Linked DNA regions of Homo sapiens: region 2 is linked to region 1. Evidence: promoter capture Hi-C in human tissues and cell types (Jung and others, 2019). All regions are on one chromosome and are shown on one strand. Each heading gives the region's core, a stretch centred on a gene start or on the middle of the fragment in contact. The rest is flanking DNA. Distances are from core to core; before and after follow the strand shown.

Region 1 (5,212 bases), core at 2,584-5,083:
CTGAGAGGGTCACCACCCAGGCATAATCATAAATGCATGGAGTCTTCCTACAAGGGGCTTGAGTAATATATTTGATTTGACTTATTATAAAGTGGAGAGGGCAAGGCAGTAGAAAAATTAGGAAACATCTGGAATACTCTAGGATGGCGAAGGCCTAAATAAGGCAATATCAGCAGAATAGAGAGATAAGGCTAAATTTGAGAACTAATTTGATTGGGCTGCAGTTCATGTACAAATATCACAAGGTAGGGTTTATGAAGCTCAGAAAGCAGGAATGAGCAATCTTTCTTCCCTTAATTGATCTCCCAGATCACTGGGTCACTTGTGCTGGGCTAACTGATGAGACGCCATTAGTCTACAAGGTGGAAGTTTGCTCCTGGCAAGTGCACTCATTTTTTTTTCTCTCTCTCTCTCTTTTTTTTTTTTTTTTTTGAGATGGAGTCTCGCTTTGTCATCCAGTGCAGAAGCGCGATCTTCGCTCACTGAGATTGCTCCACCTCCCCAGCCTCCTGAGTAGCTGGGATTACAGGCATGAGCCACCTTGCTCGGCCCAGTTCTGCTTTCTCTGAGTCTTTTTGCCAAGAAGTAGATGAGTCGGTTAAAACTGGAATGAGGCTGGACTGTGGCACGCACCCGTAGTCCCAGATACTCAGAAGGTTGAGATGAGAGGATCTCTTGCACCCAGGAGTTTGAGACCAGCCTGAGCAACATAAGGAAAAACAAAAACTTAAAAAAAAAAAAAAAGTTGATATTGCCAGGTGTAAGATGAACAGGACACCATGCTTCTTCCAAGGGCAGGCTGTGCTGTGAAATGTCAACAACAGTCCCCTTTTTTGAGTGACTACTTCTTTCTAACTCATTGGAAAATCTTGCTTCCTATGCTCATAGACTATCAGAAAATTTGATTTTTGAAATTATGTCAGTAAAAATGAAACCTCCCATAATTGCTTGTAGGATCTAACTCACTTTGACAACAGAGACATGGCCCCGATTTACAACTCAAGTACAGAGCTTCAGATAAGGAGTTTCCCAAGACAGCATTCCACATTTATCCAAGGAAACAGAACCCTTGGTCACAGCCCAAACCTCATGTTGACTCCCAGCTCTGCTTTGCTTTGAGCCTATCAAAACTCCACTTCATGGTTCCTCTAGTTTGCAGTATCTCTACTGTAACATTGAGTCAATGAACCTGACTTTGTGGGACTGCAGGTTTTGTCCTTGATGGTCTTAGGCTGGTTGGATTGGACACACTATTCTATTCCGTGTTAATGCCATTCTTTTCATTATTATAGCTTAATTACATGTTTCTTTTTTCATTGCCTTATCAAAAGGTTCTCAGGGCTGGAGGCAGTGGCTCACACCAGTAATCCCAGCACTTTGGGAGGCTGAGGTGGGTGGATCACAAGGTCAGGAGATCGAGACCATCCTGCCCAACATGGTGAAACCCTGTCTCTACTAAAAATACAAAAATTAGCTGGGCATGGTGGCGGTGCCTGTAGTCTCAGCTACTCGGGAGGCTGAGACAGGAGAATCACTTGAACCTGGGAGGCGGAGGTTGCAGTGAGCCGAGATCGTGTTACTGCACTCCAGACTGGCAACAGAGTGAGACTGACTCCGTCTCAAAGAAAAAAAAAAAAAAAAGTTCTCAATTTTTTTTGTCTTAGAACCTTCCTTTATTTACACTCTTAAAAAGTTTTGAGGACTCCAAAGAACTTTTATGTTATAGCAATTAAAACTGAGAAATTTTAAAAATATATTTCACTACTAAGCTCATTACATGTTAACATGAATAGCATATTTTTAAGTGAAAAATACCTGTATTTTCCAAAACCAAAAAAGTTTAATGGTAAGAATGGCATTATTTTATATTCTTGCACATTTCTTTAATGTCTGGCATAACAGAAGACGTTACCTGTTTCTGCATTCAATCTGTTGTGATATCACATATTATGGAGCCACTGGAAAACTTCATCATAAATTCATTTAAAAAATGGGAGAGAAAAAGGAGTGGAAAAAAGTCTTATTATTAAAGTAATTTTGGTCCTGTGAACCTCCCGAAATGGTTTCAGAGACCGCCCCCTGACCCCCAACAAATTTCCCCTAGACCACACTCTGAGAACCACTGGACTTAGCTCTTCTAGCTTCTGTAGTTTTCATATGAATTCTAGAATATATTTGTCTCTTAATTTGGGAGGTAGTAATTATGTGTTTAACATCTTGTCTTCTAACTTAGGATTCCAGTGTCTTTCCAATTATAAATAGTCTGTCAACAATCCTGCATTTTTAAATTTTTTCCCACTTTTCTCCTATATTTCTCATTTTTTATCATTCTTAGTTATTTCATGTTCTTTCATGCTTCTATTGTGAATGGGATCTATTTTTCTATTGTATTTTAATTGGGTGTTGTTTGTCTCTATTGAGATTGTGACTTTATTTTGCATGTGAGCACTCAGTTGCTCTAATTCTTAAAATCTCCCAGGTATGTCCAAATGGCCATAATTATGTTGAATAATATATTTGCTGTGATCTGTTTTTGATGAGATAACTTCTTGATTTGAAGCTGTTCATATATGTTAGGCTTTTGATTCAATATAATCCCTATTACAAGTCCACTATTCAATTTCTAATTTTTTTTTTTTTTTTTTTCGAGACGGAGTCTCGCTCTATCGCCCAGGCTGGAGTGCAGTGACGTGATCTCGGCTCCGTCACTGCAAACTCTGCCTTCTGGGTTCACGCCATTCACCTGCCTCAGCCTCCCAAGTAGCTGGGACTACAGGGGCCTGCCACCATGCCCGGCTAATTTTTTTGTATTTTTTAGTAGAGACGGGGTTTCACTGTGTTAGCCAGGATGGTCTCGATCTCCTGACCTTGTGATCCGGCCGCCTCGGCCTCCCAAAGTGCTGGGATTACAGGCGTGAGCCACCGCGCCCGGCCCAATTTCTAAATTTTAAAGCTACTTTAAGAGGAAGGGTCTTGAATATACTGAATGACCTTTTGAAACAGATTTTTAACATCACATTTTTTCCTTAAGATATGCATTGATTAGGATTAGATGACCTCTCTTTGGTCTCTTCTATAATTCTCATTTAGATAACATGAACGACAGACCCATTGAGATAATTAACAGAATCAAAGGATGTTTTGGTTGTAGTTCTCACCTGTTCAATGGATGAAGGTATAGCAATACCCAATATGTCCCTAGAGACTGTTCAAGAGAATCTGGCCATCAGGGTCCCCCCAGGTGAGCCCTGTGTGACAGGAGACCACAGAAGGTCTGGAAAGGATTGCAAAGGACCAAGTAGAGGGTTGGTGACTAACGGGCTGCCTCCCGAGGGTAGAAGTTCTTGCCTTTAACTTCAGCCCCAGCCCCAAACTCCTTAGCAGTCTGCAAAAGGGAACTGGACCCTGGGAGCGATCTCATTAGCCACTCACTATCCCTCTTGGACCTGAAACCCATTACATTTTCCGGGTCCGAGACCCTCGTAGTGTGGGGAATTTCCTGGGAGGAAGATACTACGCGGGGCCGGGAGCAGAATTTGCTCCAGGCACTGGGCCAGTCCATGAGGGCTCCAGGATCCAGGGGCCCCACTCCCTTCTCGCCGGGCTCCGGGCCAAGGAAGCGCGGCCGGAGTCCCGGGAAGCCCCTCGGCAGCCAGCCAAGGGCCCTGCGAGGATGTGGATGGCGCGGATGGCGCGGCCTCCACCTGCGGGCAGTGGAGAGAGCGGCGAGAGGAAGAATATTCCCCGCGAGCCGGGATAAGGGGCCCCTTCGGCTCGGTTGACCCAGGTCAGATCCTCCCGCCGACCTTCGGCCCGCCCTCTACAGGCGGCCCAGTTCTTCCCCTGCTCGGCTGCCCCTGCCCGCCCCTCGAGGGAGCGCCCGTAGCCAGCGCCCCCGTAAAGAAATAAGGAGGCGCCCGGCTTCCCGCCCAGGTACGTGTCGGGACAGCGCAGGGGACTGGCTTGGGGCGGCGGTGGGTAGCGGCGCCCGCGCGGCGCTGGAAACGGCCCCGCTTCCTTGGACCCCGGGGCTTGCAGGGCGGGCCCGGGGCTCTCTGAGCGCGAGGCTGCCGCGACCGCCCGCCCGCCCAGGTCAGATCCGGAGGACCTGTGTGTTTGTCGGGGCCTGGGGTGAGAGAGGGGACTCGAGGGGAGAAGTAGAGCGGGAAACCAAGAGGGGGAATGTGAGGCTTGAACGAGCTGGATGGGAGAGCTCGAGGGGAGGAGAGGGATGAACTTGAGGGGGAAACGGGGGCGGGGGTGAACTCGAGGGGGAGCCAGGAGGAGGGAACGGGAAGGGTGAACCTGAGGGGTGGACTTGAGGGAAGATCTTGTGGGTGAACCCGAGGAGGGAACGCGAGGGGATAGTGAGGGGGGATCTCGAGGAGGGAACGTGAGGAATGAACTTGAGGAGGGAACGGGAGGGGTGAACGTGAAGTGGAAACAGGAGGAGGGAACGGGAAGGGTGGCGTAAGGGGTGAAGGAAGATCTTTAGGGGTGAACTTGGGAAGGAAACGTAAGGGGAGGACCTCGAAGAGTAACGAGGGGCGAGAACTGAGGGGGCCCTGCAGGGAGACTGGAGGGAGGAGGCGCCGAGTCTGGCGGGTGTCGCCTCGGAGACCTGTGGCGCGCGCGGGCTTTGCGGCGCCGCCCACAGGTGGCGCTGGGTCGGCCCGTCCCTGAGGGAACTGCGTTCCGGGTGATTTCTCAGAACAAGCAGGTCGGTGGAGCTGGGCTCCCTGCAACCCCAAATGCATCCGTAAAGGAGTTTTAATTTTAAGGAGAAAGAGCAGACAAGAAAAGTATGATCATTATTGAGAAATAGAGAAACCTACCAGGAAAGGATGTCCTTTCAAGTCTGCTCACCAACAGCTCTGTTCTGTTCTCCAAGTAGTTGCTAACTCGCACCTTGCTACTATCCCCCTTCCAGAAAAAAAATTTTATTATTGTTAGAATGGAAATTGGCCATAAGCCTTGAAATGACTGTTGTAATGCCACTGAACCCTACACACTAAGCGTTTTTGAAAACTCAAAAGAATCTTCATTTCTGGTTGTTTCTAGTTTTCTTGGTGAATTAACTAATTGTACAGGTGCACTTAAACCTTCTTAAGCATTTTTATAATTCAGACGGATCTGGTAGCTTGAGAGTTGTTTAATGCCAGCATATGAAATGAGGGGCTTTAAGTTCCTTGTTCATTGTGTAAAAGTGCGA
Region 2 (4,755 bases), core at 571-3,070, 330 kb after region 1:
GGTTACGTGCTTTTATTATTTACTAGCCAATGCTGATAGCAGTAATTGGGGTCACTGGACCGCTCAATCCAGGGGGCTTCCAGAAAACCACATGGACATTTTGCATATGTCATTACAATCCTAGAAGTCAACCTGAAAAGTTTTTTTGTTAAGTCGGGGTAGTTGTACAGTGCCAAGAATCTAGGTTTTGTTATCAGACAGCTCTAGATTTGAAATCTGCCTCCTGCTAGCTGTGTGACATTCTGCAAGTCATATAATGCTAATAACAACAATAACAATACTACTGCTAATAACAATGTAACAATGTTAGACTGTCAAACACACATTGAGTGGTTACCAAATGTTAGGCAGAGTTTGCTTAATATTGTTTATACTTACTATCTTATGTAACCCTCATACAAATCCTCTGAGACAAATACTATTATCTTATAAATGAGTAAAAAGAAGAACTTAAACTTCAAGTACACACAGTTAGCATATATGATCTGTGGCAGGAACCCACTATTCCATCTCCAGATTTCAAGCTTTTTTTTTTTTTTTTTTGAGACAGAGTCTCGCTCTGTCGCCCAGGCTGGACAGTGGCGCGATCTCTACTCACTGCAAGCTCTGCCTTCGTGTTCAGACCATTCTCCTGCCTCAGCCTCCAGAGTAGCTGGGACTACAGGTGCCCACCACCACGCCCGGCTGATTTTTTGTATTTTTTTAGTAGAGACGGGGTTTCACTGTGTTAGCCAGGATGGTCTCGATCTCCTGACCTGGTGATCTGCCGGCCTCAGCCTCCCAAAGTGCTGGGATAACAGGCGTGGAGCCACCATGCCCGGCCCAGATTTCAAGCTTTTAACCATAGTCAACTGCCTCTCTGAACCTCGGTTTCCTAATCTGCACTGTAAGTGCAAAATAACTCTCTTGTAGGGTCGGGAGGAGGAGCAGGGATCGCACAGTTACTGCTTCTAAAACTGGTCATTTATCGTTGCTGCTGATAGTGCTGCTATTATGTAAACTTAGTCAATTTCTAGCAGGAAGGATGTACGCATACTTTCTTCTTTGCACTCACGTTTTTAGGAATAGAGCTAAGCCCTACTCACTTAGGAAAGGCTGATAGTATCTCTAGTTTCAGCAGGGCCAATGAACGGGGTCAACTAGTGACTCAGGCACCCTACATGTGACCATCTGCAAGCCTGCCTAGAAATACAGACTCTCCAGTAACCTGCTTTCTTTGGTAAGATAATCAGTTCTTCCCTTTGGAGCTATGGGGAATTAGGCATGAAACTGGGACCATGGTCCAAGGTACATTCTGTGTCTTTTTGCTTCTTCCCACAAAGAGAAGATGTTTCCTGCTGGTGATTCTACCTGTTGTTCTTCCTGGGATTTTTCCAGTCAACTTAAGGGAGTTATCTGATCCTATAGCATCATACGACTTTTTTTTTTTTTTTTTTAGACGGAGTCTCACTCTGTCGCCAGGCTGGAATGCAGTGGCACAATCTCGGCTCACTGCAACCTCCACCTCCCGGGTTCAAGCAATTCTCCTGCCTCAGCCACCCGAAGTAGCTGGGACTATAGGTGTGCACCACCATGCCCAGCTAATTTTTGCATCTTTAGTAGAGACGAGGTTTCACCGTGTTGGCCAGGATGGTCTCAATATCTTGACCTCGTGATCCACCCGCCTCAGCCTCCCAAATTACTGGGATTACAGGTGCGAGCCACCGAGTATGGCCAGCATCATACGACTTCTTAAAGGCTACTGCTAACCAAGGATCTCAATGCAAAACACCTTGTCCAAAGCAGCAGTCTGTTTCAATGGCCCTGACTTTAGTAGCAGTCCCTTCCTAAACACTAACAACTAACTGAGAGCAGTGTTATAAAGCATCAGTGGCCACTTAACTGTAAGCTTAAAGGCTGGATGTATAATTATTAAAGATATATGCTTACGTTATAGACATACTTTTAGACCACACAAAGAGTATGGAACAGTCGCCATCCAAAGCCTCCCAGGCACCAGGCGATGCTTGTGCAGAAAGGCCAGGACTGATCCAACAGCTTCTCATCTGCAGAGGACAATCTGTTGGTTGTCACCCAATTGTCTCTGTCCCCGCAACATATGGGCAGTCAGAGGATGGACAAGGCTACATCTGGAGCTCCTTCTGCTCACTGCCCTGCAGCCCTGAAGGCTCCAAACCATGGCACATATGAGAAGTACTTAGTGTGTTCCACAGTTATTTAAATACCTCCCAGGCTAAAATGTCCCAAGCAGCTTTTCTTAACATATGGACCCAGGTCTACGTGCATCAGAATCACCTGGGTGACTGATGAACATGCAAATTCTTGTGCATATTTGTCTTTTTATCAGTTTATTATTTGTCTCCCTTGATAGCATGGAAACCCTGGAGAGTAGAAGCTGTCTTGTTTACCCTGCTACCCCAGTTCCTGCAACACTGCTTGGCACATAGCAAGTGCTCAATAAATATTTGTGGGATGAATTAATTCCTGGGCCCTATGCTGACCTACTCAATCAAAATCCCTAAGAATGGGGCCATGTATTTTAAACCGGGACTTCAATGATTATTATGCTCACTAAATTTTAAGAACCAGCGTTCTAAGGTAATCCGGCCAATTCTAAGATAGAGAAAAAGATGGTAAGTTTCCTCCCCCAAGGCGTCCATATTCACTATCTGGTCAGACATTAAGTTAAACATATTAATAGCCTTGGGTTAAACTTTCCCTTCTAGCCATATTCCTCCAACAAATGTTTATCTACCACCTGCCATATGTCAGGCTCTGGGTCCTAAGTAGAGAAAACAAATATAGTTTTGGAAGGCAGAGTGCCCAGGAAAAACTAGAGCCACCCCCATTCCTTTCCAATCTGCCAGAGGTGAACACTTGGAGTTCATGGTTTGACAAGCCTACTCCCTCCTTCTGCCCAAAGTTCGCTGATACAGGAAAGAAACAGACTATATGTTCATTACTGTTTTCCCGGCAGGTTTGTATGACACCTCTGGTTCATGAAAGTCAGATGTGAGCTTAAAATATTTATCTTATCTTAAAATAATCAAACCTTTCCAAACAGGTTTCCTATATGTTTGGCACCTTTGAGTTTGTTCTGGAAGCTTAGATTATATTTTGAGTTACTCCCTGGACTTTTACCAGTATTTGATCTTGGGCAGTCACTTCTCCTTTCAGGCTGTTGCCTTATTTGAAAAATGAGAAGGTTCGACTAGAATCAGGCATGTCTTGGAGCCCCTTCCAATTTGAATGCACTCTCATCTCTGACTCCTCAGTGCCATCTTACTGCCTTATACTTAAAAAAAGTTAAGTATGATATGATTTGATGAGCAAATAATGATTGTCAAGCTAGTCTACCCAAAATTCTCCCAGGCAAAGGTGTTTAGCTTTTGGTAAAGTTGGGTAAAATTCAAGATTTGCAAAAAAAAATTTCTAAGAGTTCTCACTCTCAGTTTTCTTGTTTACCTGCAAAAATACTATGGCAATTTTAATGTGCTTTAAACTTTATGTAAAAGATAAAGATAATACCCACACTTTCTCAGAAATTTGAACTTTTTATTTATATCAGGGCTGGAGCAAGGTGCTTTAGCACAGCCTGATCTGATCAGGTTGAAAATCACTGCTTTAAGGGATGCCCCCAGGCAAAGTTATGAAGTGTAGGAAGATTTATAAGGAGTGAGAAGCTCTCTGTGTCCTTTCCTCAACCACATCACCCTCCCTTCCCTCCCCTCAGTCTCACAGAAGTTCCCCAAAGGTAGGCTGCCCTAATCTAAGTCCATAGTCTTTGCATCAAATGTAACTGTAATGCCCCTTTTTCCATTCCAGCCTGACAAACTAATCACTGGTAACTTGTCCATTACCATTGCCCAGGTAATTGTCTTTCTTTGGGAAACAGCTTCACTTAAATCAGTGATTCCCAATGCTTTGAGGTTTCATGTCTGCTTTATATTCCAATTATTTTGTCACGCCTCCTTTATTGGCCTGAAAAAAAAAAAGGGTCAAAAATATAACTTACCCTTCTCACTATATAATGCCCAAATTATTTTTTTAAATGAAGAAATGTGATAGAAGTAATTTGTAATAAATTAACTTATTTCAATATGTAAAAGCCTAAGCAAGACAGCACTAGAAGCTGTGATGAAGTCCAGTGCTTGCTGTATGTCTAGACTCACAGGGAGAGCCACAAAGGTACTATGGAGTCAATGACAAATACCAAAAACCCCACTCACTGCTCACTATATGCCAATAGCATCCCACAACCACTGATTGTGATAATCACCTCTACCATCAGTTATTTTTCCAAAAAGCCTTTTAAAAACCTAGATCAATGACCCTGATGCAAAGTTGGCTATGTTAGCAACCTCCAGAGAGCTATTTTGACTTAAAGAATGTTTCTCTGGGCCGGGCACGGTGGCTTACGCCTGTAATCCCAGCACTTTGGGAGGCCGAGGCAGGCAGATCACAAGGTCAGGAGATCGAGACCATCCTCGCTAACACGGTGAAACCCCGTCTCTACTAAAAATACAAAAAATTAGCCAGGCATGGTGGCGGGCGCCTGTAGTCCCAGCTACTCGGGAGGCTGAGGCAGGAGAATGGTGTGAACCCGGGAGGCGGAGCTTGCAGTGAGCCAAGATTGTGCCACTGCACTCCAGCCTGGGCGACAGAGCCAGACTCTGTCTCAAAAAAAAAAAAAAAAAATGTTTCTCTGTCTCTCGTACCATGATTATTATAATATTAAGCAAAGCAGTATCTGTG

The links. The method cuts DNA at HindIII sites, captures the fragments that hold promoters and counts their contacts. A contact is called where the count stands out against the background at its distance.
Region 2: a fragment that was not itself captured here is called in contact with the fragment with the promoter of MYO3A in region 1 in 1 of the 25 tissues and cell types used here (H1 embryonic stem cells).

Annotation. Positions count from the first base shown.
Region 1 is chr10:25,930,396-25,935,607 of GRCh38, forward strand. It overlaps MYO3A (myosin IIIA), which reads left to right and starts at 3,834. Exons shown (of 35, transcript NM_017433.5): 1 at 3,834-3,933. LOC101929073 (a long non-coding RNA gene) reads right to left here and starts at 3,315. Exons shown (of 4, transcript NR_120650.1): 1 at 3,159-3,315; 2 at 1,913-1,966. The HindIII fragment of the contact is 12,658 bases long and covers 1-5,212 here.
Region 2 is chr10:26,263,788-26,268,542 of GRCh38, forward strand. All of the region lies in intron 8 of GAD2 (glutamate decarboxylase 2), which reads left to right. Among named protein-coding and RNA genes, the nearest start is that of GAD2, 49 kb to the left of the region's middle. The HindIII fragment of the contact is 4,527 bases long and covers 1-4,084 here.